Linked DNA regions of Homo sapiens: regions 2, 3, 4, 5, 6 and 7 are each linked to region 1. Evidence: promoter capture Hi-C in 16 types of primary human blood cells and fetal thymus (Javierre and others, 2016). All regions are on one chromosome and are shown on one strand. Each heading gives the region's core, a stretch centred on a gene start or on the middle of the fragment in contact. The rest is flanking DNA. Distances are from core to core; before and after follow the strand shown. Region 1 holds the start of LUC7L3 (LUC7 like 3 pre-mRNA splicing factor). Region 2 overlaps SPAG9 (sperm associated antigen 9). Region 3 overlaps SPAG9 (sperm associated antigen 9). Region 4 overlaps SPAG9 (sperm associated antigen 9). Region 5 holds the start of ACSF2 (acyl-CoA synthetase family member 2). Region 6 overlaps SPAG9 (sperm associated antigen 9). Region 7 overlaps SPAG9 (sperm associated antigen 9).

Region 1 (4,352 bases), core at 955-3,454:
AGGCTATAGAAAAGGTGACTCCTTTTCAGCATATAATGGGTTTGCCCATCCCTGCAGGTTTAGCACTAACAGCCAACAGTACAAGAATATGCAGATGACCCGGAAACGATATCAACAGCTTCCCCAGCTTCATTATACAATAATTCCACCTATTTAGATGAGACCATGTGCTTTGTTTTTGCTCAACACTACCAACATTTTCCCTGCAGATATCAATCTGAAATGCCAGTAACTGACTTGAAATCCTTCAATCTAGAGTGAAGTGCAATCTGTCATTAAGGCATTAAATACTTTAGTAATAAACACTGAAAGTTAAAATTAGTGAAAAGTACTAAAACTGAAAGCAAAGCAGATTACGGCTGAGATGACATAAAACCTAAATTGCTATTCTGAGGGCCTCATCATTGAAGAGTCATAAACCCATCACATACAATGCAATGTGGCAACAAATTACCCCGGGAAAGAAAACAGTTTCTCTAAAACGTGTTCAAAGTCAAGGGTGCAGAGATACAAGGCTGTTCCAACTGATAAGGAGTGCAATGGAAAGCATTTTTCTCTTGAATTCAAAATATACAAATAACCTATTGAACATAAGCCAAATCGCCATAATGTTTTGGTTTTTTACCTTACTTAGGATTTTGAGCGTTATTCCTAACACATTTGCAAAGTTTAGACTGAAAGGTTACAGAGTCAGGTAGTTAAAAAAAAAAAAAGTTACTTCGCTATAACAAAGATGCCTACAAAAGAAAGATGGTCAAGGTAAGCAGTTCCTTAGTCTCCTATTGTGACAAATGGTCGGGGGGATGGGGAGCCTAAATGTTAAAAACAAAAAACCCACCTCTTAAAAACAATAAATTCTACTCTAAGAATGTTTCATACTACTTTGGAATCAGTTAGCACCCCAACACAACTTGAGCCAAACTTACTCTTTCTTAAAGTCCTAAAAGGAGTCATCTAGCACCAACTTGCTTTCCTACACTGCAAAAAAGAAATTTTACCTTAACCAAAGCCTACGTTTAAAAAGAGTAAGAAAACAGTTTTCTAAAGAAGCATGCATTACCTGAACTATTCCTTCCTATTTTGATTAGCAATTGTTTTAAAATTAGCATGTTAGATTATAACCTCAAAGTAAAATTAAATTCTGTATCTATTCTCCAGATAAGACCTAAAGTAAACATTACACTGCATGTTCAAAACTAGATCAAAACACTTGAAATGCTACAGTAGGTGCAGAGAACCAGTTTCATAGGATTGTGGAAAGCTAACAGAACTACAAAGATTAGTTTCCTCAGTTGCCAAGACTTTGGGTGAGCCTTTTTAAGTCTCACCAGTGAAACTGGGGTTATAATATTTACCTTTACTCCCCGGGCTAAGAGCATCAAATGAGTTTTATGTGGAAGAAAAAACCTTGACAGCTGCCTCTATAAGGGACTTCTTAGAATACTGTTAACGAACAATACTTGTAAATCATCACGGTAAACCCTAACAAGTAAACGACTTCTTTTACATTTCTATTTCCCCGTATAAGCGTCATGCTGTAATTACTTAAATAAAATACCGCCACGATTTTTACCATGAATCCTGGTCAGAAATTTTAGTCTAAATACGACGTTCAACCCAAACTATAGAAAAATGTGCCCTTCTCCCTATTTCATAATGAGGTGAAACCTCGGAGCCGCTAGATTTAATAAGACGCTGCTATCCTTCTTTCCCGCGTTTCCCCGCCTCATCAAGGTGCTTTTCAATTATGCCAAGGGCTCTCCCGGACCCCCTTGATACTAGAACAACAAAACCAAATCACCCCCATCCCCGGGTCCGGACAGCATCCTCCCTCCTGGCTCCATGGGCACCGGGTCAGACGCTCGACCCCGGGTGCGGCCCTGGCCACATCGCGCCGCGGCCAGGAGGGCCACAGCCCGCGCCCGCTCCCCTCCCCCACGGAGCCCGGGCTCAGGCCAAGGCCCGCGGGACTTACGCTCTCGTGGTCCCACCGCACGTTGCTGCGCTTCTCGTCCGGGGCTAGGTTTCGGTCCCGGCCCATTAACTCATCCAACAACTGCGCGGCCGAAATCATGGTGCTTCCTTCGGGCGGCTGTTCCCACCAGCCCAGGCACCCGCCAACGAAAACACGGGCGACACCGTCGCCAATCTCCTCGGCCCGCTCTCAGGCCGAAATCCCTCCTACACACAGGAGCCGACAAGACAAAATGGCCGCCGCGCGGACGCCTTCCCAGCATGCCGTGCGCCCGTGGGACACGCCCAGGCCCGGGCGGAGAGGGCGAGCTCGGCTTCCGCCGTCCGGGGGCGGGGCCCGCGGAGGCCGGGTAGGGACTCCGCCCCTGTCTAGAGGCCGCGGGGACGGGTAGCCTCTGCCCGCGCGCCTCCCCAAGCGCCCGGTTTTCCCGAGCTTCTTCACGGTGAGAAATTGGAGCCTAGGTCTTGAAGCCTGGACACCGCTTCAAAATGGAGAAAGTGTCTCCTTTAGTCCACGTGGTGCACATGGTGCCTCATGCAGCGGAGGAAACTGAAGATTACGGCTTCCGACTCCATTTTCCTAGTCGCTGTGCTCACGCCTCTTGCACCTGGCTTTGTCCTCCCGCCCTGAGTCTCCTGATTAACAGGATGGGAAATCGAGGCAAGAAGAGACAAGGCGGCTTCTAAAATACGGGGATTCAGTCCTACACCAAATGTCTCCCAGTGTGGAATTTTTTAAAAAGATATTGATCCAGTAGGCCAGGTGAGGTGGCTCACGCCTGTAATCACAGCACTTTGGGAGGCCGAAGCGGGCGGATCACCTGAGGTCGGGAGTTCGAGATCAGCCTGACCAACATGGAGAAACCCCGTCTCCACTAAAAATACAAAATTAGGTTGGCGTGGTGGCGCATGCCTGTAATCCCAACTACTCAGGGGGCTGAGGCTGGAGAATCGCTTGAACCCGGGAGGCGGAGGTCGCGGTGAGCCGAGATCGCGCCATTGCACTCCAGTCTGGACAACAAGAGCAAAACTCCATCTCAAAAAAAAAAAAAAAAAAAAAAAAAATATATATATATATATATATATATATACACACACACACACACACACACATACACACACACACACACACATATATATAGATAGGTAGATCCATTTATTCAACAAATGGTATGTGCCAGGCACTGTGCTTAAAGCTAAACTCAGAACCTTTCAGACAGTCCATGCTCCCGCAGACCTGTGCATTGGCGAGGGGAGATAATCGCTGAAGAAATAAAGTCACAAATATATCAACGTATGTTGGGATAATGCTTTAGCACAGTTAAGGGTATGGTCTCTAAAGCCAGATTGCCTGGGTTCGTAATCCCAGCTCTGCCGCTCTGTGCCTTTGTTTCCTTTTCTGTAAAATGGGGTTTACAATAGTCCTCCCCCGGCCCCCAGCCACGATGCTATTGTGAAGATTAAATGAGTTTATACAATGTAAGGCACTACACATTGATAACAAGCCCAACACTTTTATTTTTGGGGGGACTGGGTCTGGCCCTGTCACCCAGGCTGGAGTGCAATGGCACGATCTCAGCTCACTGCAGCTTCAACCTCCCGGGCTCAGGCGACCCCCTCGCCTCAACCTCCCCAGTAGCTGGGACTACAGGCGCATGCCACCACGCCCGGCTAAGTTTTTGTATTTTTGGTAGAGACGGGGTTTCGCCAAGTTGCCCAGGCTGGTCTTGAACTCCTGAGCTCAAATAATCCACCCACCTCAGCCTCCCAAAGTGTTGGGATTACAGGCGTGAACCACCGCGCCCGGTCGTGGACACCTCTTTTTAAGAAGGAAAGCAGCAAAATAGGGTGAGAACTCAAAGGAGGTATGGGACATGAAGCCTTTTTTTTTTTTTTTTTTTTTTTTTGAGCTATCGCTCAGGCTGGAGTGCAGTGGTACCATCTTGGCTCACTGCAACCTCTGCCTCCCGGGTTCAAGTTTATCCTGCCGCAGCCTCCTGAGTAGCTGGGATTACAAGCACCCGCCACCACGCCCAGCTAATTTTTGTACTTTTAGTAGAGACGGAGTTTCGCCATGTTGGCCAGGCTGATCTCAAACTCCTGACCTCAGGTGATCCACCTGCCTCGACCTCCCAAAGTTCCCAAAGTGCTGGGATTACAGGCGTGAGCCACCAAGTGGGGCTGGAGCCTTTTTGAAGATAGGAAATTAGAGGCTAGACATGGTGGCTCACGCCATAATCCCACTACTTTAGGGAGGCAGAGGCAGGGAGATAGCTTGAGGCCAGGAGTTTAAGACCTGCCTGGGCAACATAACAAGACGCCATTCTCCACAAAAAGGAAAAAAAAAGAAAAGACCAAAAAAAAAAAAACCCCAAACG
Region 2 (4,352 bases), core at 650-3,149, 370 kb before region 1:
TTGTGTTTTGAAAAGATGGATGAATGTAATCTTTTTTTTTGAGATGGAGTCTTGCTCTGTTGCCCAGGCTGGACTCGGCTCACTGCAACCTCTGCCTCCCAGGTTCAAGCAATTCTCCTGTCTCAGCCTCCCCAGTACCTGGGATTACAGGCATCTGCCACCACACCTGGCTAATTTTTGTATTTTTAGTAGAGATGGGGTTTTGCCATGTTGGCCAGGCTGGTCTTGAATTCCTGACCTCATGATCTGCTTGCCTCGGCCTCCCAAAAATGCTGGGATTACAGGCTTGAGCCACCGCACCTGGCCAAGTGGAATCTTACTTGTCTTTTTTACTCGCTTTGTGAATCAGAGAGATTCTCAACTTATTCTTTAGTTTATAGTTTACCTTTACATCGACTCAAAATTTAATGGTGAATTGTAGTTACCTGGGCATGCCATGATCTTTAGACGTTTGCATGTGCTGTGACCTCTGCCTGGAATGTCTTTATCTCAGTAAAGGTTTTAGGCAAACCATTCCTTTTAGAGTAAGCTAAAATGACTTCTCTCTTTTTTAAAAAAATAGTATATATGGCCGGGCACGGTGGCTCACGCCTGTAATCCAGCACTTTGGGAGGCTAAGGCAGGTGGATCACCTGAGGTCAGGAGTTCGAGACCAGCCTGGCCAACATGGTGAAACCTTGTCTCTACTAAAAATACAAAAAATTAGCTGGGCATGGTGGTGGGTGCCTGTAATCCCAGCCACTCGTGAGGCTGAGGCAGGGAGAATTGCTTGAATCTGGTAGGCAGAGGTTGCAGGGAGCCAAGATCATGCCACTGCACTCCAGCCTGGGTCACAGAGCGAGACTCCATATCAAAAAAAAGAAAGTGTGTGTGTGTATGTGTATATATATATATATATATATATATATATATATATATATATATAAAATAAAGTGTATATATATACATATAATAAGTAGATATACACATATATATTATAATTATATATATATAATTTTATTTCAATATTTTTTGGGGAACAGGTAGTTTTTGGTTACATGGATAAGTTCTTTAGTGGTGATTTCCGAGATTTCGGTGCACCTGTCGACTTCTTTTTTGTTTGTTTGTTTTTTTGTTTTTTTGAGACAGAGTTTCACTCTTGTTGCCCAGGCTGGAGTGCAATGGCACAGTCTCACCTCAGTGCAACCTCTACCTCTTGGGTTCAAGTGATTCTCCTGCCTCAGCCTTCCAAGTAGCTGGGATTACAGGTGCCCACCACCAGGCTCAGCTAATTTTTGTATTTTTAGTAGAGACAGGGCTTTACCATGTTGGCTAGGCTGGTCTCGAACTCCTGACCTCAGGTGGTCCACCTGCCTCGGCCTCCCAAAGTGCTAGGATTACAGGCATGAGCCACCGTGCCTGGCCCAACTTCTGTTTTTTTTTTGTGTGTGTGTGTTTTGTTTTGTTTTGTTTTTGAGACAGAATCTCCCTCTGTTGCTCAAGCTGGAGTGCAGTGGCGCAATCTCGCTCACCGCAACCCCTGCCTACCAGGTTCAAGTGATTCTCCTGCCTCAGCCTTCCGAGTAGCTGGGACTACAGGCGGGTGCCACCTCGCCTGGCTAATTTTAGTATTTTTAGTAGATGCGGGGTTGCACCATGTTGGCCAGAGTGGTCTCCATCTCTTGACCACATGACCCACCTGCCTCGGCCTCCCAAAGTGCTGGGATTACAGGCGTGAGCAACTGTGCCCACCTCCCATTTTTTTTTTTGAGACGGAGTCTCACTGTGTTGCCCAGGCTGGAGTGCAGTGGCACGATCTCGGCTCACTGCAAGCTCTGCCGACCAAGTTCATGCCATTCTCCTACCTCAGCCTCCTGAGTAGCTGGGACTACAGGCGCCCGCCACCAAGTCCGCCTAATTTTTTTTGTATTTTTAGTAGAGACGAGGTTTCACCGTGTTAGCCAGGTTGGTCTCGATCTCCTGATCTCGTGATCTGCCCACCTTGGCCTCCCAAAGTACTGAGATTACAGGTGTGAGCCACTGTGTCCAGCCTTGACTTCCCTTTTTTAAAGCAGATTTAGTCACTTCTTCCTCTCTGCTTTCATTATAGCACTTAGCGTGTTACACTGTAAATGTTTATGATACGTCTTTGATGGCTCTCATACAGTGAGTACTCCTATTGGATGGGTGGGCAAAGAGTTTTAGTTTTATATTTAACATGTTATTTTATCTAAGAATAAGTCCTATGAATGACATTACCTAGTTTGTAGTAAATATCATCATGCTGCCTAACTGCCTAGCATTTGGAGAATAGGCATTGTGAATAGGTGTGTGGCTTAACTATTACAACAGCTTTTTCCTAGTCTCTTAACTATGACAAGTTTTTCTTTGACTACAGAGTGACGGACTGGGATGTTTCCTATTTTTGTTATCTCAGTTAGTGTGTTAAGTGGAAATTATAGAAGTAGAAGGCAGACATGTTTCTTTGAAGTAAATCAAGAAGACTTTAAAAAGAGGGTCAGGGCCAGGCATGGTCGCTCATGCCTATAATCCCAGCACTTTGGGAGGCTGAGGCAGGAGGATCGCTTGAGCTCAGGAATTCGAGACCAGGCTGGGCAACATGGTGAGACCTTGTCTCTACTAAAAATAAGAAATAAAAAAAATTTAGCTGGGTATAGTGGCACATGCCTGTAGTCCCAGCTACTCAGAAGGCTGAGGTGGGAGGATCGCTTGAGCCCAGGAAGTCGAGGCTGCAGTGAGCCATGATTGTACCACTTCACTTCCAGCCTGGATGACAGAACAACACCTCATCTCTAAAAAATAAGTAAATGAAAATTAAAAATTAAATTAAACAATAAAGAAGGTCAGCCATGCTTGTACTATACAAACCTAGTAATGAGGTTCAGCAGAACTCATGTGCTACCAGCCCAACTAAGATCTCTGAATGTAGAAGGGAAGCAGAAAGCCCTGAGAACTTTCTTTTTAGTGTAACCCATGCCACTCATTGCCCAAGTATTTTGTTGATAGTATGAAAAGGTTAGGTATAGAGACAAAGAAACTATTCTCATTACTTCCCTTATGCTATACCTCCAGCCTTCATCCAGGAAAAAAGAGGACTCTTACTAGGACCACGAATCCAAACCTTTTTCTGCCAAGAGCTGTATTTTGGCATCTGTTTGAATTTCATGACACCGTCTCTGTTTCTATTCCTGTTTTCTCATTCATAAATTCTTATATCAATGTTTCCCACTTTCACATGATTGCTAATTGCTATATAGAGCTATGCCATTTCTGAAGTATTTTTGTAATTATGAGTGTTCTGCTTTCTGAGCTATTCTACCCTACAGCAACTTCTGTTTATGAGGTTACCTATATTGTCAGGGATATTTCTCAAAACAGTGGCCCAAAACTAGACTATTTGATGGATATTTTTCTTGGATAGCAATTTAGAAACTTCCAGTCACTTGTTACTTTTTCTTGATTCTTGATTATTCTTTGAAAGTTAGTATTACATTTATCCTACTCAGCTTTCAGTGCCCTGTGTAAGCTATTAGGGATGTCTTATCAGAACTGAGGAACTTTTATTTTTGTTGCATATTAGTGATTAGCATTTTATTTTTTATTTTATTATTTTATTTATTTTTTGAGACGGAGTCTCACTCTGTCACCCAGGCTGGAGTGCAGTGGCACCATCTCAGCTCACTACAACTTCTGCCGCCTGGGTTCAAGCAATTTTCCTACCTCAGCCTCCCAAGTAGCTGGGATTACACACACCTGCCACCACGCCCAGCTAACTTTTGTGTTTTTAGTAGAGACTGAGTTTCACCATCTTGGCTAGGCTGGTCTTGAACTCCTGACCACCCACCTTGGCCTCCCAAAGTGCTGGGATTATAGGCATGAGCCTGTAATTTTTGGAGACAGAGTCTTGCTCCATTGCCCAGGCAGGAGTGAAGTGGTGGGATGTCGGCTCATTACAGCCTCCACCTCCTGGGTTCAAGCGATTCTTGTGCCTCAGCCTCCCGAGTAGCTATGACTACAGGTGCATGCCACCATGCCTGGCTAATTTTTTTTTTTTTTATCGTGTTTTCAGTAGAGATGGGGTCTCACCATGTTGCTCAGGCTGGTCTCAGATTCCTAAGCTCTGGCAGTCTGCCCACCTCGGCCTCCCAAAGTGCTAGGATTACAGGAATGAGCCACTGCACATGGCTGTGATTAGCATTTTAAATGAGGATGGCAGCTGTACGTTTCCAAACCAAGACTTAATACACATTTAAAATTGGGATTTTCAGCCGGGTGTGGTGGCTCACACCTGTAATCCCAGCGCTTTGGGAGGCCGACGCAGGCAGATCACCTGAGGTCAGGAGTTTGAGACC
Region 3 (4,352 bases), core at 1,189-3,688, 340 kb before region 1:
CTCTCGGTGGGGCGCGGTGGCTTACGCCTGTAATCCTAGCACTTTGGGAGGCCGAGGTGGGTGGATCACGAGGTCAGGAGATCGAGACCATCCTGACCAACATGGTGAAACCCCATCTCTACTAAAAATACAAAAATTAGCTGGATGTGGTGGTGCACGCCTATAGTCCCAGCTACTCAGGGAGGCTGAGGCAGGAGAATCGCTTCAACCAGGGAGGTGGAGGTTGCAGTGAGCTGAGATCGCACCATTGCACTCCAGCCTGGGGACAGAGTGAGACTCTGTCTCAAGGAAAAAAAAAAAAAACAAAAAAAACCCTTTTCTCTGAGGTTTGCTTAATGGTATAAGTCAGCTAGGGCCGCCATAACAAAATATTACAGACTGGGTGGCTTCAATAGCAGAAATTTATTTCTCACAGTCTGGAGGCTGGAAATCTGAGATCCATGGTACAAGCAGATTTGGTTTCTCCTGAGGCCTTTCTCCTTGGCTTGCAGGTGGCTGCTTTACCTCTGTGTCCTAATATGGCCTTTTGCCTATCTCTTGCTGTTATAAGGATACCAGCCCTGTTGGATCAGGGCCCCACCTTAATGACCTCATTCAACCTTAATTACCTACCTTCTTCTGCCTTTTTTTTTTTTTTTTTTTTTTAAAAAGACAAAGTCCCGCTCTGTCACCGAGGCTGGAGTGCAGTGGTACAGTCTCAGCTCACGGCAACCTCCATCTCCCAGATTCAAGCGATCCTCCTGCCTCAGCCTCCCGAGTAGCTGGGATTACTGCTATTTGCCATGACGCCTGGCTAATTTTTGTATTTTTAGTAGAAACAGGGTTTCACCATGTTGGCCAGGCTGGTCTCGAACTCTTGCCCAGGTAATCCACCTGCCTCGGCCTCCCAAAGTGCTGGGATTACAGGTGTGAGCCACCTCGCCCGGCCCTTAATTATCTTCTTAAAGGCCCTATCCCCCAAATGCAGTCATATTGGGAGGTAGAGCTTCAACCTATGAATTTGGGGGGTGAGGGAGCACAATTCAGTCCATAATAGGTCAGGAGATAAGAGTTCTCTGTGGGGATGGGAAGCAAAGAGTGTTGTGACTTGACAATCAGATCCAGAAAAGTCTTACAGACCATTGTAAGAATTTTTTTTTCCTTTTAAAAATGAGATCGGAAGCTTTGAAGTTTTGAGCGGTTAGTCACTGTTTGATTCCATCTCTATTTTGAGAATGTAGGGAACAAAGACTAAGTAGAGAAACTAGTCAGGAGACTAGGATTATTATTGTAATAACCTAAGCAAGAGATGATGTCTTGGGTCAAAGTGAGAGTGATGAAGGTGGTAAAAGTGGTGAGATTCTGGTTTTTGGTTTGTTTGTTTGTTTGTTTGTTTGTTTTTTGAGATGGAGTCACACTCTGTCGCCAGGCTGGAGTTGCAGTGGCGCAATCTTGTCTCACTGCAACCTCTGCCTCACTGCAACCTCTGCCTCCTGGGTTCAAGCGATTCTCCTGCCTCAGCCTCCCAAGTAGCTGGAATTATAGGCATGCACCACCACGCCCAGCTAGTTTTTGTATTTTTAGTAGAGATGGGGTTTCACCATGTTGGCCAGGCTGTTCTCGAACTTCTGACCTTGTGATCCGCCCACCTCGGCTCTCAAAGTGCTGGGATTACAGGCGTGACCCACCAAATTTTCTTTATCCAGTCTATTCGGTAACATTTTTGTTCTCTCCCTGAGAATGCTACAGTCAGAGCAATAAAGCTTGTTTGTTATGGTTCTGAATAGTTTGTTTAAATCCCATTCTACATGTTGAACTCATAGCCATTGTAGGATAACATAAGGAAGAATGAGTATTCAAGCAGAGGAAAGTGCCTGTGTGAATGGATGCACATCGTGTTTGAACTGAGGTGGGCTGGGGCTATACAGGCATAAATACATCAGATCACTGACTCCTCCCCAGAGGTAACTACTATCCTGACTTGTAACATTTCAGATTAGTTTTGTGTTATGTCTTTGAATTTTGTATTCTTTTGTTTCTGCTTCTTTCCTTCAATATCATATTTGTGCTATTGGTCCATGATGTTGTGTGTGGCAATAATTTGTTTATTCACGTTGTACAGTATTCCAGTACATGAATATTTATCCATTCTACTCTTGATGGACAGTTGGATTGTTTTCAGATTGTGCTTCTTTGAACATTGTTTTAAATACCTTTGGGTGGACATATATATAGGCTTTCTAGCAATGACATTGTTTTGTGATAGGGTTGGCAAACATTCGAAACTTAACTAAATCTTGCCAAACAGTTCTTAAATTGGGCATACCAAGTTACGGTGTATGAAACCATACACCACAGTTTATGAAAGTTCCAGTAGTTCCACATCCATACTGGCACTTGGTGTGTTGTGTTTTTCACTGTAGCCATTCAGAAGCATGGTGGTGTTGCATTTTGGTTTTAATGTGCATCTCCCTGACTTGGGTACACATTTTGCTTGGCAGTTTGATGCCCTTTGTATCAAAGTATCTGTGAATGGGTTGTTTCTGTAAGAACAGAGGAGTTTTTTGTTTGAAGCATACTCCCCTCTGCCCAAAGTGATATCTTAAAGTAAACTCCAATATACAAAACAGATTAAAATGAGTATTTGCTGAGAAGCAGTATAGCATGGTAATTAAGAACACAGATTCTGGAGCCAGATTCTGATAGGAATCCTTGCTTTGCCATTTTCTATCTGTGTGACTTTGGGCAAGTTACTTAGCTCCTATTTGCTTCAGTTTCCTCATCTCTACCATGGATGTAATAATAATACTTTCATCGTAAGGTTAATGTTAGGCTCAAATAAGTTAGTTTATATGCAGTTCTTAGGACTGTATGGTACATAGTAAGCACTTGATGTTGTTGGCTGCTATTAGTAGTGGTGGTGTTGGTGATACAAATTTATTTATGAATTTATATCAGCTGACAAGAATAATAAGGCTCTACTATTGAGCACAAATTTGAAATTGAGGATTATGAATGATAGTTGGATTTTATTTCAGCCTCAGCATCCAATTTTTGTTTTTGTTGCACATTATCAAGAAAATAATGATTCAAAAAGATGAACAATTGAAAATAGATATGGTTTGTCCAGTAGTCTCAGAATTCCTTTAAGCTTTTAATCAGTTTAAATGACAAGTAGTAGAAAATGTTTATTTTGAAATTATTAAATATCCATAATTTGCTTGGATTTCCTGTTTTTAAATAAAAATCATAGAATTAAATTTTATTAAAAATTAATTTGTGGTTTTAGCATCTATTATTTTATCACAACACATCTGCATAATAAATTTGCTTATTATCGCTTTCAGCCACAGGATAAGATGAGCAGCAGATGTATTCAACACTTGTGTGGCATGATAAAATGTGCTCCGTGGGTACTGTAGTGTGTGTTTGCTCTCTGGTGCAAATGTAATGAGCCAGCGACACATAAGCTTGAATTAGAAACAAATCAAAACAAAGACAGCTACAGTTTTCCTAATCACATATTTTCAAGATATTTAAACAAATTATGGCAAGTAAAGGTACACAAACCCAAAATGAATTTTCTGGGCAGCACAAGGTATGTTTTGTTTGGTGTCTGGTGTGTTAATACTAGGAGGCATATAAAACATTCATTTATCTGCTGTCAGAATATTAGTTCATACTAGTTCCTTCTACAGCTGTCCTCCACAGTCACCAGTTGTAGATTACACACAGCCTTGCCTGTTTGCGGCCAGCTGACCCTTAAACCCAGGGAACATTTTCAACTATGCTAAGGCTTTCCAACAGACTAAATGAGTACCCTGATAAACTCCTCTAGCACCAGCTTTATTTCTCCCCAGACTGTCTCCCACTGCTCCTTAGCCAAGTATGGGCTCCTCCAGTCTGGCCAGTCTCCCCTCTGCCTCACCACCACCCTCTGCCTCACCACAGGCATGGTTTTGTGTTCCCTTCTCTGTGGTAACAGTGTCAGGAATGCTCTCATTACCATCTGTCTTGAGTACTGTAATTTCTTCCTTTGTGGTTCTGTGTGGACACCACCTCCTCCCTGAATCATTCCTCTTTGCTATCAGTTATTCTTTCCTGTGGAATCCTGTCCTGACATTCTGTATCTCAGGATCTATTAATAAAACTTTTTTTTTTTAAATATCCTGAAGTTGTACTCTGTGAGCACTACCTCAAGTCAGTGCCACTCACAAAACCCATCAGCAGAGGGAGCTAAATAAAAGAAGATGAGTCCCTGAAATTGAGGAGACCTGAAGCAGAAAAAGTACTTATAAACAATCAACTTTCACAAACTGCCAGTGCTAAAGAGCTTGAGTAGTGTTGGAAATACATTATTTGGGCCCTAATCC
Region 4 (4,352 bases), core at 632-3,131, 310 kb before region 1:
AACTTTCATTCACTGATTTTAGCATCCACAGTGGATTTTGCCTACAACAATTATTAGTAAAATATTGCTAATAGTTATTTTCTATTTTCTTCATTCTACATTTATTAATTGGAATTCTTCTATCAGGGAGAGTTGTCTTCTTCCCTCCTTCCCTCCAGTCCAGTTTGAATTCAAGGGATATATACATATATTATTCTGTGGGCTATGCGAACCTATCATTTCTTTGGTTTCTCAAATTTTTCTAGCTTTGGACATTGAGAGCTCTTTCAGGTTGGCTCCTGTGCTCTTTTGACATACCCCATCCTTTTTTGAATGCTTTCTTCCTTATTGGCACCATAAGATGCTCTAAGCTGTTGTATTTTCCCTGCCCCACTCTTAAAAATTGGACTACTTCTCAAAGGAGCTCTGGCACATTTTTTGGGAGAAGTGTATTTAGGAACCAAGATCTAGGCATTATTCATTCATTTACTTCTGGTTTGGGTTTTTCCATTAGTTTATACCTCCTTTATAGAATTTTGTATTAGTGTGCCTACTAGGGTAAAATAAAAGTAGAGTTTTAAGAAAAAAATGGATTATGTGTTGTAATATTTCATATTGTTTTGTTTATGACAGTGGATAAGGAATTTGTTCTATAAACTCAATTTTTGCTTATAAGCTTTTTTCCTCACATATATCTTCATGTGATAACTTTAGGAACCACCTATAGGTGACTGTTAGGGTTTGGAAGGAAAAAAAGGGTAAAGATTCTATTGTGTTGTATGTTGACCAAGATGCCTATTATGTATGTTGAGAATAGAAACTGATAAAGATGTAAATAAGCAGCACTTTCAAAATGGCGGTGTTTAAAGCTTGTATTTTAAATGTGACTTCATCTGAGGTAATTGGCACATAGGTATTTATTAATACTTACATTTACTGTTTAAACAGACTTTTAGAATAGGAGAAGTTGTTTAACATTTTCTACTGAAAAAATTACCTTTTTCACTCAAAAAAATTTATTGATGCTCACTGTGTTAGGCACAATGCCATGTACTAGAAATGTTGTTAAGGTGCTCAGAGGTCCAAATATTTTCTAAAAGAGGCCTTTATAATTTCTTTTAAAAAGTTATTTTACTACTCAGGAGGCTGAGGTGAGAAGACTGCTTGAAGCCACGAATTCCAGGTTGCAGTTCACTGTAATGGTACCTGTGAATAGCCACGGCACTTCAGCCTGGGCAATATCGCAAGATCCTGTGTCTAAAAAATTATATTAATTCAGTTTCACAATTTTTAGTAATACTGAAGAATGTGGAGTAGGAATGGGAAGTTTCTTCAACCCTAAATTTCATTTTTTCCCCCAGTCATTGTAAATAGTTGATGTATCCTTGGCCTTTTTCTTTACAGGTGCACATAGATATAATATCTTTTTAAGATAAGTGGGTTTATAAGTGTTTTCCTGCTGCTTGCTTTTTTTTTTTTTTTTCATTTAATGACATAGCTTGACAATCTTTCTACTTTTATATAGAGAGAGCTACCCAAGTTTTTACCTAGTTTTTGATGAAGAGAATGATTAAAGATGATGAGAATCTAGAATCAAAGATCTTATAAATAAACATTAAGTGCTCTTACCACCAAAAAAAGTATGACGTGCTAGATATGTTTATTGGCTTGACTGTGGTGATTGTTTCACAATGTGTATTAAAAAAATCACCTTAACTATATGCTGTATTTGTCAGTTATATCTCAATAAAGCTAGGGGAAAAAAAAAAACCACATCTGTTAAAGAAGAGGCAGTCTGATTCCTACAAAGTGAATCATGCCTTGTTAATCTGTGTATTTTGTATTTTTTATTTTTTTTTGAGATGGAGTTTCGCTCTTGTTGCCCAGGATGTAGTGCAATGGCGTGATCTCGGCTCACTGCAACCTCCTCCTCCTGGGTTCAAGCGATTCTCCTGCCTCAGCCTCCAGAGCAGCTGGGATTACAGGAGCCCGCCACAACGCCCAGCTAGTTTTGTATTTTTAGTAGAGACAAGTTTCTCCATGTTGGTCAGGCTGGCCTTGGACTCCCGACCTCAGGTGATCCACCTGCCTTAGCCTCCCAAAGTGCTGGGATTACAGGTGTGTGCCACTGCGGCCGGCCTAATCTGTGTATTTTTAAGGGCATAACTGAGAGCTAGCAGCCTTTCAAAAAGACTTTGATGAATTTCCAGACCAAGAGTATTTGAAACTGTTGCTTTGTATTTAAGAGAAACACATCCGTCTCATAGAGGGAAAATGTATAGATAGAAATAAAGAATATGAATAAATAGATTTTTATGAAAAAGGATTTGGGACTGGGCACATGGCTCATGCCTGTAATCCCAGCACTTTGGGAGGCCAAGGAAGATGGATCACTTGAGCCCAGGAGTTCAAGACCAGCCTGGGCAACAAGGCGATACCAAATCTCTACTAAAAATACAAAAATTTATCCAGGCATGGTGGGGTACACTTGTAGTCCCAGCTACTTGGGAGGCTGAGGTGGGAGAATCACCTGAATCCTGCGAAGTTGAGGCTGCAGCAAGCCGTGATCGTGTCACTGCACTCCAGCCTGGACGACAGGAGTGAGACCGTGTCTCAAAAAAAATAAGAAAAAGGATTTGGATTTTGGTGATCCTTTGATCATTAGTGTTATCTAACTAATTCAGAAATGATAGAAGGAGGTGTGATAAACATTTCTGAGTATGCTGCACTGGATTATTAGCATGTTAAATAGTCAAAGGGACTGGAATAAACATCAGGAAGATTTCATAAAGTGGTGTAAGTAGAAAAAAAAGGTTAAACAATGAGCTGCATGTTGATAAGTATAAGACACTGATCCAAGTGGTGGCTTCTGAACCATGATATTACTTAAACTAGAGTGTTAAGGTCAGCTTAAGTCAAAATAAAACAAAGCTTCCAAACCCTCATTTTAAACACAGTAGATAATAGATGAATCTTGTATCTTGGGAGATAGTACAAGCCAAAGTTACAGCTGTGTTAAAACCTAGTAAACACATAATTTTTTTCTCTTTTATAATCTTCCCTCTTCCTAGGTCAGCAATAGTCCTGAACCTCAGAAGGCTGTAGAACAGGAGGTGAGAATGGTGCTTCTTAACATTTTGCAAAAAGTATACTAAAGTGATTAACTATTGATTACTTCCTCAACTGCTATTCTCAAGACATCAGATGCTCAGCTTGGAAGACTATTGTTGTAATTCACTGAAATATAAAAGAAAATTATTTCCACTGTAGTGGTTGTCAGGGCTTTACTGCAATCTGTAATTTATTCCTTCCCCAAAGTAAGCATTTTTAAATAAAGGAAAGAAAATATAAGTAAATTCTGTGAAATTCAGCCTGTTTGCATTTATCCAGCTCTATGTAATGGTATACTTTCCAGAAATACCTTCTTCAGGGCATAATGTATGTAACTTGTATTTGTCCTGAATGTGGCCTAGTGTGTCATCTTACAGTGGACTGCTTCCTTAGTTTAATAGAGTTCTTCATCTCCAGTCAGGGCACCATCCAGCTTTATTCATCAAACATCTGTTAAGAGCCTACTACAGGCCAGGTGTGGTGGCTCATGCCTGAAATCCCAGCACTCTGCCCAGGCAGGCGGATCACTTGGTCAGGAGTAGGAGTTCAAGACCAGCATGGCCAGTATGGTGAAATCTTGTCTCTACTAAAAATACAAAAATCAGCCAGGCATGGTGGCAGACACCTGTAATCCCAGGTACTTAGGAGTCTGAGGCAGGAGAATTGCTTGAACCCGGGAGGTGGAGGTTGCAGTGAGCTAAGATGGTGCCACTGCCTTCCAGCCTGGGCAACACAGCGAGACTCCATCTCAAAAAAAAAAAAAAAAAAAGCCTGCTACATGTCAGGCTTGATATGCTGGGCACTGGGGATAACAGGATATCTGTGACTTTCTCCTACGTGCTAGGTCAGGGGTTGACCTGGGTCCATGGAAGCCCTCTAGCATCAACAGTGAAACAGTATCCTCTTCCTTTGAAATATACTCAGAGTTAGGACATTCATACCTTTCCTTTAATAATTTGAATTCTCTTGAAGCTACCATTCTGTTTACACTTAGATGGATTTTACCTAAATGTGAGTATCTAGAGTTAAGGTTTTTAGTGTTTCCTTTGGGTCACAGACTCTTAGGAGTCAAATTATTTGAAACTCTCCAGAAGAATGTATGTACACACCATTTTGTAACTCTTTTATGCCACATAGCTGTAAATCAAAAGAGTTTTAAGAACCAATGCTTTAGAGACTTACTTTTACTTGGGGAGAAAGAAATGTAGGTATAAAAGTATATTTGTGTTAATAGTGAGGGATCCTATGTGGGGCTAGTTACT
Region 5 (4,352 bases), core at 540-3,039, 290 kb after region 1:
CAGATCATATAATCAGGGCAACTTGAGTCTATGCTCCCGGTTGCAGTCTGCAAACATGGCCCAAATAAATCTCTCTACTTATATTACTTTGGCCTCAGATTTTTCCCTTAGGTCCACAGTCTTATATGATCATAGCCATCCCCATGGAGGGTGGTCCACAAAGCCCCCTTACCCCTCTGTCCCCACCATCAGCACCAAGTCACTGGATCCCCAGCTCTGAGCACCACACCTAATTCTGAGAGGCTTTAGCCACTGATCTCTCTGCCTTCCCAGCTCTGAGTGTTCTCAACACCCTGGATGCAGCTGCCTCATAGGCAGCCCCAGGCCAGCTTTAGGGCAGGTCTGGGGGAAGCCTGCTCAGCCCAGGTTTCTCCTTGAATTCCTTCCTTGGAGGTTCACTGAAGCCCCAGACTAAGCCATCCACCTTCTTTGGGGAAGGAGGCACATAGATAGGGGGAAGGAGTTGGTCGTGAGGAGTTCTGGAGAGCAAAGGACAGCTTTTTCTTTCCTTCTGGGGAGAAAGACTCTGGGCCGGGCGTGGTGGCTCACGCCTGTAATCCCAGCACTTTAGGAGGCTGAGGCAGGTGGATTACTTGAGTTCAGGAGTTTGAGACTAGTCTGACCAACATGGTGAAACCCCATCTCCACTAAAAATACAAAATTAGCTGGGCGGGTGGCGCACACCGGTAATCCCAGCTACTTGGGAGGCTGAGGCAGGAGAACTGCTTGAACCCAGGAGGCGGAGGTTACAGTGACCTGAGATCATGCCATTGCACTCCAGCCTGGGGCAACAAGAGCGAAATTCCACCTCAAATAAAAAAAAAAGAAAAAGAGAAAGACTCTGAACAGCCCTGCGTCAAACGGAGAGGAGGACGTCCAGCAGACCCAAGGACTGGACATGTAGCTGGGTGGAAGTCACCATCTTGGCAATCAGCTAGGAGAAATAATTGGGTTCCAGAAAGAGGCCACCAATCAGGGGATCCTCTCCTACTTTCAAATCAGTCAGAATTCCCACCCAGACACCAGTCAAGGGTTTCCAGGGATCAGCCCTGCCTCAAAGGAAAGGCTGAGAACAAGAGCAAGCTTGTTTTATTCATCAGCCCAACAACACAGCAAGAAGGTAGTAAGTAATGAACTAACTAGCTCAGAGGTTAGATAACATGCCCGAGGTCATACAACCAACAGGGAGAGGACCCAGGGCTGTCATCCAGGATAGTCTAACTTCAAAGCCCTTGCTCTTTTCTCTCAGGCAAAACCAGGGTCTGGTAAGTAATAGGCCTGGGTGTTGGGCAACAGGAAAGCAGGCTGTGTGTGAGCAGATCGGAGAAAACAGAGGACGAAAGTCCAAGCGCATTCCTCACCATGGCACTTGCAACACCGAATAGTGCTCACCTTGATTTATTTCTCCTCCTACGAGGCTGCAAGTTCCTGGCAGGGTGAGGACTGAGTTCTGTGGCCTCTATATGCACAGCATGTGCTAGCATGACGCAGAATCTGTTCTCAGGAATGTTTGCTGATGGTTTCAGCCCTGAGGCTTCTTTTTTCATTTTTATTTTTATTTTTTTGAGATGAAGTCTTTCTCTGTCACCCAGACTGGAGTGCAGTGGTGCAATCTCAGCTCAGTGCAACCTCCGCTTCCCAGGTTCAAGTAATTCTCCTGCCTCAGCCTCCCAAGTAGCTGGGATTACAGGCATGTGCCACCACGCCAGGCTAATTTTATATTTTTAGTAGAGATGGGGTTTCTCCATGTTGGCCAGTCTGATCTAACTCCTGACCTCAAGTGATCCGCCCACCTCAGCCTCCCAAAGTGCTGGGATTACAGGCATAAGCCACCATGCTTGGCCTTTATTTTTATTTATTTATTTTTGACATGGAGTCTCCCTCTGTCACCCAGGCTGGAGTGCAGAGGTGCAGTCTTGGCTCACTACAACCACCGCCTCCCAGGTTGGAGCAATTCTCCTGCCTCAGACACCCTAGTAGCTGGTATTACAGGCACATGCCACCACGCCCGGCTGATTTTTGTATTTTTAGTAGAAACGGGGTTTCACCATGTTGGCCAAACCGGTCTCCTGACTTCAAGTGATCTGCCTGCCTGGGCTTCCCAAAGTGCTGGGATTACAGGCATGAGCCACCCACCCAGCCTTTATTTTTATTTTTTGAGTCTAGGTTTTGCTCTGCTGCTCAGGCTAGAGTGCAGTGGCATGATGACGGCTCAATGCAGCCTTGAACTCCTGGGCTCAAGTGATCCTACCACCTCTGCTTTCCAAAGTGCTGAGATTACAGGCATAAACCACCTTGCCTGGCCTGAGCCCTGAGGCTTCTGAAGGGGAAAGTAGGAGAGAAATCAGGTAAAACCATCACAGTCAGACAATAAGGGTGCAGGCACAAGGGAGTGGAAGGGGCAGAAAGAAAGTAGGCCAAACACTCAGAAAATCATCTGTCTGGATAAATGAGTCTCCTCCTGACACAGCAATAAGAATTTCTCTGAAGCTTGGTGCTCTCAGAGGTCCCAGGGCTGTAGCAGGTAAGTGACCTGTTTTGTTTATAGATAAAAAAAAGTCAAAGGTCAGAAATGTTGCCATGTGGCCTGATTTATTACTTATTTATTGGTTTGTTTGTTTGTTTTCTATTGGGCAGCCTCCTGAGCCAGAGTAGGCTGAGAGACTTCCCCTGTGGCCTGATTTAGTGTGATAAAATATGTACACTTTGGGAAGTAACTTTCCTCAGAGTCCTCCCAGCCTGAGGGGGCAGCCATGAGTCCAGAGGAGAGGCTTAAGAGACTAGGGGGTCAGGGGAGGGCCGAACTTGTCTAGGGAGACCCTGGGAAGTAGTGAGTGACTTCCCAGGGTCACTGGGAAGAGGACCCCACTGTCCTCATCTCAATCCCATCTACTGACCAGCCTTGATCCACTTAGTTTTCTCAGCAAATTAGGCAGAGTGATGTTAAGGCATTGCATGCTTTCTAGCATTCAGAAATCAGCAAGTTCAGAAAGTGTGATCTTGGAGTTCTAGCCAAAAAGGAGTCTGCATGTCCCTCCAACTCTTCCTACTTAGCCTTTTTAAAAACAAAAACAAATCTAGTTCTCTGAGACACAGCTTTGTTCTGACTTCTCCCTTTTCCATGTCCAGGCCCACACCCCATCTGATGTTGCTGAAAGTGCTGTCCTGACCATAGACTTAGTATCTGGCCGAGTTGAGTGGTAGGACAGGCTCAGTAGTGCACAGGGCTCCCCAGTGGTGCTGCTGAAGCTAACAGCCCTGATAACATGAGTGGCAGCCTGCTCTCTGTGTCTCAAGCACTTTCACATTTGCCATCTCACGGGGTCCTCCCAAGGACTGGTCACACCGGGAAGGCAGCTTTACTTACTGTGCTGCTGCAGAGGCAGTGAAGCTACTGGGAACTGAAATCCTCTGCCTGCCAGCTTCCATCCCACCCCTTGCACTGAGGACAGAAGGAAATAGGCCCAGGAGTAGGCAGCAAAGAATTAAAGCCATGTTAGTGAGCAGCTGATGAGGAGACAGGAGACTGCTAAGTTTAGTGGCCTGGGTCGGGGAGACTGGGGCTGATCCCCAAGTTTGCCCATGAAGGGGTTCCAACTCAGAGGCAGTGTCCTGGGGGTACAGCCCAGGCCTTGGCCCTTGCCCCTCCCCATCGGAATATTCTCCTTAAAGCCCACACTCCTTGCCCTCTGTGCCCATAAAGGAGAAGGAATCGAGAGTCTTGGACCAGAACTCGAAGTCACTGCAGCCACCAACCAAAGCCCCCTCCCCACCCAAGTCCACCAGGCCAAGCCAGCTTTTCCTATTGCCTAGGTGCTGGCGGGGGGCGGGGGAGGGGCGGGTACCTTCCCCCCAGTGCACTCGTCCAGAGGTGGGGCTTCCGAAGCTCGCCGGGACCTCCAAGTTCCTCTCCCGGGGAACTGCCCCGCCCCCTCTCTTCCCGCGGGGGGCCAGTACCTGAGGAAGCGGACACCCTGCAACCTGGCTTCCTGCCAACTCCGAGAGAGGGCGGCCCGGGCCCCCAGCACCCCCGAGCTCCCGGCGCACAGCCTCCCCAGGCGCAGCATCCCGACGTAGACAGCCATGGCTCGCTTTGCCCTGCGTCCCGGCCCGAGTAAACTTTTAAAGTGAGCCGGGGCGGGGCGGGCGCGCAGCGGGCGGGGAGGCGGGGAGGGTGGCCTCTGCCTATGGGGTGCGGCGGATTCGGTCTCCGCCGGCGGGGCGGGGCGGGGCGCGGCGGCGGCGACTTCGCGCGGGGCCACCTTCCCCTCCGACCCCGCGGCCCTCCCCCTCCCACCCTCGAAGAATAGCCCTGGTTTCCTCTGGATCCGAAGGCCCCAGCTGCAGTCCGA
Region 6 (4,352 bases), core at 1,194-3,693, 290 kb before region 1:
AAAAATTCTTCACAGGTGAATTTGTAAGAGAGCAATGTACCTTTGGAAAAACACACATGTAGAACTAGATAAAATTGTGCATCTTCTCAAGGGATTACCATATAACTCTGAAGCTCATCTATGGACCTAGCTTGAGAATCAGTGTTAAAATCCAAATGAAACTTCTGTGATTTTAAAAACTGCCAGGCAGTTTTTTTTTTATTTTGCTTGTTTTTAATAAGTAAAGTTTTCAAATGTATTAGACCTAAGTTTGTGCTTCATTTAAGTCTTGAATAGAAATGAGGCCACTTTATGTTTTTCTTATAAAGAGTTATTGATCATTTCAAAATGAAATTTTAGATAATCCTATTGGTTATATATTCAATTTATACACCATATATTAAGATAACTCTTCATTGGGAATGTGTACATTTAATGTAAACTTTATTTATTTATTTTTGCCATCTCGGAAAGGCTTTATTTCTACTTCATCCGGGTCTCATGCAGACTCAAAGGCACCATCATGTGTTTCCATTTGGTATCCTCATGACTTTTTGTAGTGTTTTCCCTTAAGAGTAAGCTCTGTACATTGCCAGTTAATCTTTTAATGATAATTTTAAAATGTTGTTGCTGTTGTATCATTGATGCAAAAAGACCAACAATAGAAGTACAATACAAGGAAATTCACAACATATTATAGTGGGACAGACTGAGTCACATTTAGGTGATGGTGAGGACGCAGTAGCAGTATATTCATGCACCCAAAGACGTGCAAGCCAAGTAGGATAATATATGGATCATACGGTGAATTTTCTAAGCCCACTGAGGACTTTGTACCTTTTCAAAAATGTCCTGTATACCCTCCAGTTTACAGAATTATCTGTCTTGTCTACTGGCTTCATGGCTAATGTAAACTTTAGAAACTATATTATAGGATTTGTTTTTCCTGTAGCACACATTTCAATTTTTTTCCTTTTTATAAATATTTACACTTCATTGTGTTTAGTTAATGGTTTCTCTACATCTTGTCAATTTCTTTGTTTCCTCTCTCTCATTTTAAAGTAAATGAGTTTAGTTCTTGCTTTCTGAAAACAATCTAATTGAGATTCTCATTCATTTTTCTCTTGGGCTGCTTACGTAGGGGAATATTCTGGTGTGTATGATTTTGAATATTTTAATATTACTGCTTTTTAAGCTAGGTGTTCTTGGCTGCTGTTCTCATCTAATGCTTTCTCATCATTTTTTTCTGCTCAACTATTTTTTTGCCTTTCATATATTTTCAGCTTCCACGCTTATCTAACTGCTTGAGAGTTTATAGCAAACATAGTTACTATATAAACTGTTTTCAACCAGTCTACATTCTTATTTCTTCTGTCTCTATAACTTTGTTAAAAAGTTAACATTCCCAGCCATTGTATCTACAAAGGAATAAAAATTTAGCATTAGTGTTTAAAGCAAATATCTTGCCGAAGATCATTTTGGAGTTAGAATTTGGAAACTTTTTTGGGACTTTTATTTTGTTTTGTTTGGTTTCAGTTTGTAGATAATACATAGGTAGATGATTAATCTATTTCTGATATTTAATTCTTTCTGGTGTAAGTACCCTGATCTTTGAGAAAATTAGAATATAGACAAAATATGAGTCCAGGTACACAGAATATGTAGCATTCCTAGGTTGGCTGTTTTTGTTTTAAGTAATTTTTAAATCATTTGGAAAATTACCTTTTTTAAAATAAAGGGACATGTTAACTCCTTTGTCGTATGTAGTTTTCTTTAGAAAGATTTCTTTCCTGTTTACTTGGGTTATGATTATTACTTCTTCCATTGTATGTGATTTTCCAACATTATTAGCTCACAATTCCTTGAAGATGAGTGACTGGTGGGTTTTTTTTGTTTTGTTTTGTTTTGCTTTGATTTTTTGTTTTTTGAGTGATATTCCCTAGTGTGTTATTTCATTTCTTCAGTTTCTTAGGAAAAGCAAATTAATAGCTTTCTTCTCCCTAAAGACCACTCCATTGGATCTTGCATTGGATGCTCTACGTGCTTATCTCACAGTAGTCATTAAAATGCCAAACACGATCAAAGACATTCACTCAAGTGATAACTGAACATTATTATTTTATAGGTGGCACTTTGAAGGAAAGTTTGTATTGTTAATTGAAGATTTTCAATCTAATTATAGTTAATCTTATTGTGAGAAAGAATTGGTAAAGCATTTTTTAGGTATATCAGCATCCTTATGAATGAAGGAAATCATCTTTATTTCTGTCTTTTGCACATCATTATGCATTAAATCATAACATTGTGATTCCAGATGTTTTTCATATCATGTATAAAACTTTATAGATTAATAATCTGTTTTCATGCTGTTTCTTACGTAAAACATTTCTTGTTCTTTGTTTTTGCTTTACATGGAATGCATGGGCTTTAAGACCATAATTTCTTTGGTAAGGTTTCATCTGCCTTGGGGTTCTATCTTTCTTTAGCCTTGTTTTTGCCTGTTCTCTATTAATAAGGTCTAATTTTTAGGCAAAAGCCTACGAGGTCAGATGTGATTTAGAAACAATTTCGATCCATATTAAAGCTGTTCTTTTTTACCCTATGTAGTGTTGGAATATTAGAATATTTGGCAGAAAAGTCTTGATCCTTTTGAAATATTATCTATGAGAAATATAGACTAACAGATATTAAAAATTGGCCTCATTCCCTAGCAAGCCGATTCAGATTTAAAAAAGAAATAGGCCAACAAAATCTTTAGCCTTGTTCGTAATGAATAATTATTTATAATTTTATAATCTATTAAAGTAGGTCCATCAAATGAAATTATAGACAAAATAAAATTAATAAAGGACAGATAAAATTTCTAAAATAAAACTTGTGACTATAGCTTATATTTTAAATGTATATAATTATTGATGCATTTATTTTCAAAGTCTTTATCTTTTTTCGTTTGATAGGAATGGGTCGGGAAGTTGAGAATCTTATATTAGAAAATACACAACTGTTGGAAACCAAGTAAGTATATGTGAAATTTTAACAGAAGATAAAGAATTTTCTTCTTGTCCAAGTCAATGACACTTCATCGTTTTAACATAATACTAATGGAATCTCCCTGTCCCATCTCGTTCCCCAACTCTGAGTGTGCACACACACACACACACACACACACACACCCTAATGTTGGGACCTACACTGCCCTGTTAGATATGTTCCCTTGCCCTGTTTTTTTGTAGAAACACAGATTGTCATCTCCTTTTCACTCTATAAGTATCCATGCCTTTTTCTTAATCTTCTAAATTTGTCCTGGTTTTACACTTTTTTTGCTCCCTCCCTTAACATTTGTCTGTTTTCTTATCTCTTCTCCTGGGGTTTCTTTTATTTCCACACAAATATTTTCATGTATACTCAGCCTTCCTCTTCAGAGCTGTCTTCCATAGCTGTGCATTCTTGGGTGCAATTTGTGGAGTCTTAAGCCCTCAGACACATTTAATGGGACAGATCCCCAGTCATGTGGAAAAGCTGACTGGGTTCCTTTGTCAGTTTGCTGTGTCAGAGCAACTTTGGAACATCTGTGTATATCCAAGACAGAATGCAGTTATAATAAGGTCCTATGCCCACTATACCCAAAGGAACTGGATATCAGGGTTTTTTCTTCAGCGTAGACTGTCTTAACTTTCCAGTTTAAACTGTTTTCTCATTATTTATTAAAGGTAACATCAAGAAATAATTTTACTTTATTGATTGGGTAATATATTCTGAGGAATTATTAACAATAGTAACCTTTTGAATGCTATTTTTAAAATTTAATCTTCTCACTTTTTAGTAATTGATGATCTGTCTTGTTTTATTCATTTGATAAATGAGTAAAATCTTAGACTGTTGCTTTGTGTTCTTTTTGCATTTATCTACAAACAACATTGGGTAGAATGTCTTGAAGTATTAAATTATTATTGTCTATGGTTGTACAGTTTAGTCTACAAAGGAATAGCTGAAAGATGGAAAGAATATTTATTTGTAATGATGCACTTGAAATATGTGTTTCTTAGAAATGCTTTGAACATAGTGAAGAATGATTTGATAGCAAAAGTGGATGAACTGACCTGTGAGAAAGATGTGCTGCAAGGGGAATTGGAGGCTGTGAAGCAAGCCAAACTGAAACTAGAGGAAAAGAACAGAGAATTGGAGGAAGAGCTTAGGAAGTAAGTTTTAACTGTGTTGTTCTAAACCAAACTCTTTGCCAGTTATGCCACAAAGGGTTACAGATGTAACCCTGAGACTGAGACCTTCTGTCCACTCAAGCCTGGAAGGCCAAGAGCTGCCTGGGAGAGGGCAAAGTGCCCCAGCCCATTGCCTCTGCTGTGAGCAGGCCCCTC
Region 7 (4,352 bases), core at 1,119-3,618, 270 kb before region 1:
TAGAAATAGGCCGGCCATGGAGGTTCACACTCATAATCCCAGCACTTTCAGAGGCCAAGGTGGGACGATCACTTGAGCCCAGAAGTTTGAGACCAGTCTGGGCAATATAGTGAGACCTCATTCCACAAAAAATCAAAAAATGAGGCGGGAGGATAACTTGAGTCGGGGAGGTCAAGACTGCAGTGAGCTACGATTGCACCACTACACACCCACCTGGGCAATGGGAGTAAGACCCTGTGTTTTAAAAAAAAAAAAAAAAAAAAAAAAAAAAAGACCTGGCATGGTGGCTTACACCTGTAATCCAGACACTTTGGGAGGCTGAGGTGGGCGGATCACCTGAGGTCAGGAGTTCGAGACCAGCCTGGCCAACATGGTAAAACCCCGTTTCTACTAAAAATACAAAAATTAGCCAGGTGCAGTGGCAGGCGCTTGTAATCGCAGCTACTTGGGAGGCTGAGGCAGGAGAATTGCTTGAACCTGGGAGGCAGAGGTTGCAGTGAGCCGAGACTGTACCATTGCACACCAGCCTGGGCAACAAGAGTGAAACTCTGTCGCCAAAAAAAAAAAATAATGGTGATGGCTACACAATGTTATAAATATTAATGCCAATATTGTAAATATTAGTGCCACTGAATTGTACACTTTTAAATGGTTAAAGTGGCAAATTTTGTTTATATATATATTATTTTTACTGCAATAAAAGTTTTTAGTGTGATATAAATAAAACAATTTTCTAAATTAAAAAATGAGATTTATTTTTATATTGTAAATATTTTTATATTATAAATGCTTAGTTTTTAATGTTTTACTAATATCTTAATCAACCTATATACTTGGGGCATTTAATTTTTAACAGTAATGGATAGAAGCTTATACTTCAAGTAGTAGCAGTAGTCTTGATGATTTAAAAGAATTTTTTTTTGGCTGATGTTGTCAGATATAATAGATTGTTTTTAACCTGTGGCTGCTGAGGAGCTCACTAAGAACAGAAGCTGGCTAGGCGTGGTGGCTCGCACCTGTAATCCTAGGACTTGTCTGAGGTTGGTGGATCCCTTGAGGCCAGGAGTTCAAGACCAGCCTGACCAACATACCGAAACCCTGTCTCTACCAAAAATACAAAAATTAGCCAGGCGTGGTGGCTCACACCGGTAGTCCCAGCTACTCAGGAGGCTGAGGCAGGAGAATCACTTAAGCCAAGGAGGCGGAGGTTGCAGTGAGCTGAATCATGCCACTGTACTCCAGCCTGGGCGACAGAGTAAGACTCTGTCTCAAAAAAAAAAAAAAAAAAGTTTATTTTCTGACATTTTTATGTTTATTTGCACTTGTGTTAATAGAAGTATTTTCTTAATTTTTTAAGTTACCTTCCCATATTGTGAAGATTTGTTTATGTAAATTTAATGCTACCTGTATTCAACTACCTGTACATCTCACCTGCATAACTCTCATTTCAAACCTGTAATTGTTTTAGTAAAAAAAATGTTATTTATAGAAGTTTACTTTGCTGTTACAAGAAGATTTATTTTTCAGGTGCACGAGAAACAGACTACCCTGCAGGAGAAGATCTTTCAGAATCTGGTCAGGTAGACAAAGCATCTTTATGTGGAAGTATGACAAGCAACAGCTCAGCAGAGACAGACAGCCTGTTAGGAGGCATCACAGTGGTTGGTTGTTCTGCAGAAGGTGTGACGGGAGCTGCCACTTCCCCTAGTACAAATGGTGCTTCTCCAGTGATGGATAAACCACCAGGTATATCCATTCTCTTTACCTGCCATCTGTATAGAGTCTAAGGCTACACTCAGATGCCTCATTATGGACTTAATTTAGATCTTAAGTAACAAGGTTGAAAGAACTTGAAAGAAGATACTGTAGGCCGGGCGTGGTGGCTCACGCCTGTAATCCCAGCACTCTGGGAGGCCAAGGCGGGTGGATCACGAGGTCAGGAGATCAAGACCATCCTGGCTAACACAGTGAAACCCTGTCTGTACTAAAAAGTACAAAAAATTAACCGGGCGTGGTGGCGGGTGCCTGTAGTCCCAGCTACTCGGGAGGCTGAGGCAGGAGAATGGCGTGAACCTGGGAGGTGGAGCTTGCAGTGAGCCAAGATCACGCCGCCGCACTCCAGCCTGGGCAACAGAGCAAGACTCTGTCTCAAAAAAAAAAAAAATGCTGTAATGACTGTTAAATGGAATGAAGAATTCTTAATTTCATGGTACAGTGTGAAGGAGTGGGTAGATGGAATGGAATTCTATAACAGGGGTTTGTGTGGGGAAATAATTGGAGGAGAAAAGCCCAGACTTGGAATAGTGTTTTATTTACTTTGTAGAAATGGAAGCAGAAAATAGTGAGGTTGATGAAAATGTTCCAACAGCAGAAGAAGCAACTGAAGCTACAGAAGGGAATGCGGGGTCAGCTGAAGACACAGTGGACATCTCCCAAACTGGCGTCTACACAGAGCATGTCTTTACAGATCCTTTGGGAGTTCAGATCCCAGAAGACCTCTCCCCAGTGTATCAGTCGAGGTATAATAATGGGTCATCAACTTAGGCAACTGGGTGAAGTGCACAAATAAAAGGAACCAAAATAATCTCAAACAGTCAAAAGATTTCCACTAATTAGTGTCACTGTGGTGGATTAAAAGATACCTATTCTTGTGATAATTTCATGTATTCCCGCTCCATCATTCTCGCTGGATATTCCCCCCCATTTCTTCTGTACACCTTCCAATTTAAAAAAAAAATCTTATCTATAAAAGTATAATCATGCATCAGTCAACAATGGGGATATGTTCTGAGAAATGTGTCATTAGGTGATTTCATCATTGTGTGAACATCATAGAGTGCATTTACACAAATCTAGATGGTATGGCTTATCACACACCTAGGCCATATGGTATAGCCCATTGCTCCTAGGCTAGAAACCTGTACAGCATGTTACTGTACTGAATACTGTAGATAATTGGAACATAACGGTAAGTATTTGTGTATGTAAACATGCACAAGGTACTGTAGAAATATAGTAGTATAATCTTGTGGAACCACCACCATATATTCTGTCCATCATTTTCCAAAATGGTTTTACCAGGTGTGTGACTATATATTAGTCAAAATCTTTCTGTTCATTTTCTCCTCTGATCTGTTTTTTTTTCTTTTTTTTTGTACTTACTGTCTTCCATTCTATAAGTAATTCTTTGTCATTTTAATCCCACCCCTACTCTAATTTTCACTCCAGTTATCAGCAAAATTGGCCATTGTTTAAATCTGCCATTGTACAAGTTTCCCACATGGGTGTGGATGACCTTTTTGAATTTAGTTTTCATGCAAATATTTTATTAAAAAACAACTCAGATAGTTCCAGTGGCTCATGCCTATAATCCCAGCACTTTGGGAGTCTGAGCAGGAGGATTGCTTGAGTCCAGGAGTTCAAGACCAACCTGAGCAACATAGTGAGACCCTCATCTCTACAAAAAACTTAATGATTCGCTGGGCGTGGTAGCGTGCACCTATGGTCCCAGCTACTCAGGAGGCTGAGGTGGGAGGATTGCTTGAGCCCTGGGAGCTGGAGGCTACAGTGGGCCATGATATCACCACTGCACTGCCGCCTGGGAAACAGAACAAGACTCTGTCTCAGAAAACAAACAAACCAAAGAAAACTGTTTGTTTTAGGCTCCTCCGTTAAAGGGTTGGTTAATCTAGGCCCATTTAGTGAATTATTTTATTTTCTTTCCTGCCTTTTCTAGATCCCCTCTAGATGAGAGTCTCTTTAAACTAGATCCTTTTTAAAGTTTAATATTCTTAGTGTATAAAGTAAGAAAGATTAATTAATAACCCATTTATGCCTAGTGGTCCATTATTGGAATGCTAAGCTTGTGGGAGTTATTCATATCCTACTGCTCAAGGTCATCGCTAAGGTCTGATTTTTTACAAAAAAAATTTGCAACCTCCGGCATAAATGGGTTAATATTTAATTCTTTTTTTTTTTTGGAGATGGAATCTCACCCTGTCACCCAGGCTGGAGTGCAGCAGTGCAATCTCAGCTCACTGCAACCTCCGCCTTCCAGGTTCAAGCGATTCTCCTGCCTCAGCCTCCCAGGTAGCTGGGATTGAAGGCATGTGCTGCCACACCCAGCTAATTTTTGTATTTTTAGTAGAGATGGGGTTTTATCATGTTGGCTAGGCTGGTCTTGAACTCCTGGCCTCAAGAAATCCACCCACCTCACCCTCCCAAAGTGCTGGGATTATAGGCGTGAGCCACCGCACCTGGCCTGAATTATTAATTTAAGAATAAGTCATGTTTGAATTTGATAGCCTGGTTATATATCTTTTACTAAATATGCCCTGACAATTCAAAGGAAA

What was found. Contacts are between HindIII fragments. The CHiCAGO score rates a contact against its expected background, and 5 or more counts as called.
Region 2: a contact is called between a fragment that was not itself captured here and the fragment with the promoter of LUC7L3 in region 1, in 1 of 17 cell types (monocytes). The highest score is 6.1, in monocytes.
Region 3: a fragment that was not itself captured here is called in contact with the fragment with the promoter of LUC7L3 in region 1 in 1 of 17 cell types (M2 macrophages); the score reaches 5.0 in M2 macrophages.
Region 4: a fragment that was not itself captured here is called in contact with the fragment with the promoter of LUC7L3 in region 1 in 1 of 17 cell types (naive CD8 T cells); the score reaches 6.1 in naive CD8 T cells.
Region 5: a contact is called between a fragment that was not itself captured here and the fragment with the promoter of LUC7L3 in region 1, in 1 of 17 cell types (endothelial precursors). The highest score is 5.6, in endothelial precursors.
Region 6: a contact is called between a fragment that was not itself captured here and the fragment with the promoter of LUC7L3 in region 1, in 1 of 17 cell types (total CD4 T cells). The highest score is 6.0, in total CD4 T cells.
Region 7: a fragment that was not itself captured here is called in contact with the fragment with the promoter of LUC7L3 in region 1 in 3 of 17 cell types (total CD4 T cells, M2 macrophages and M1 macrophages); the score reaches 6.6 in total CD4 T cells.

The regions. Positions count from the first base shown.
Region 1 is chr17:50,717,455-50,721,806 of GRCh38, reverse strand. It overlaps LUC7L3 (LUC7 like 3 pre-mRNA splicing factor), which reads right to left and starts at 2,204. Exons shown (of 10, transcript NM_016424.5): 1 at 1,976-2,204. The coding sequence starts at 2,074. RefSeq lists silencers at 1,868-1,927, 2,268-2,497 and an enhancer at 2,098-2,237. The HindIII fragment of the contact is 10,215 bases long and covers 1-4,352 here.
Region 2 is chr17:51,086,194-51,090,545 of GRCh38, reverse strand. All of the region lies in intron 1 of SPAG9 (sperm associated antigen 9), which reads left to right. Among named protein-coding and RNA genes, the nearest start is that of SPAG9, 32 kb to the left of the region's middle. The HindIII fragment of the contact is 6,447 bases long and covers 1-4,352 here.
Region 3 is chr17:51,056,799-51,061,150 of GRCh38, reverse strand. All of the region lies in intron 2 of SPAG9 (sperm associated antigen 9), which reads left to right. Among named protein-coding and RNA genes, the nearest start is that of SPAG9, 62 kb to the left of the region's middle. The HindIII fragment of the contact is 1,388 bases long and covers 1,745-3,132 here.
Region 4 is chr17:51,030,421-51,034,772 of GRCh38, reverse strand. SPAG9 (sperm associated antigen 9) reads left to right here. Exons shown (of 30, transcript NM_001130528.3): 6 at 3,051-3,092. Among named protein-coding and RNA genes, the nearest start is that of SPAG9, 88 kb to the left of the region's middle. The HindIII fragment of the contact is 2,062 bases long and covers 851-2,912 here.
Region 5 is chr17:50,425,995-50,430,346 of GRCh38, reverse strand. It overlaps ACSF2 (acyl-CoA synthetase family member 2), which reads right to left and starts at 4,129. Exons shown (of 16, transcript NM_025149.6): 1 at 3,958-4,129. The coding sequence starts at 4,085. RefSeq lists a silencer at 3,997-4,316 and an enhancer at 4,053-4,352. The HindIII fragment of the contact is 1,407 bases long and covers 1,086-2,492 here.
Region 6 is chr17:51,005,911-51,010,262 of GRCh38, reverse strand. SPAG9 (sperm associated antigen 9) reads left to right here. Exons shown (of 30, transcript NM_001130528.3): 10 at 2,937-2,994; 11 at 4,026-4,178. Among named protein-coding and RNA genes, the nearest start is that of SPAG9, 110 kb to the left of the region's middle. The HindIII fragment of the contact is 5,368 bases long and covers 1-4,352 here.
Region 7 is chr17:50,987,844-50,992,195 of GRCh38, reverse strand. It overlaps SPAG9 (sperm associated antigen 9), which reads left to right. Exons shown (of 30, transcript NM_001130528.3): 20 at 1,528-1,746; 21 at 2,324-2,519. Among named protein-coding and RNA genes, the nearest start is that of TOB1-AS1, 120 kb to the right of the region's middle. The HindIII fragment of the contact is 2,993 bases long and covers 872-3,864 here.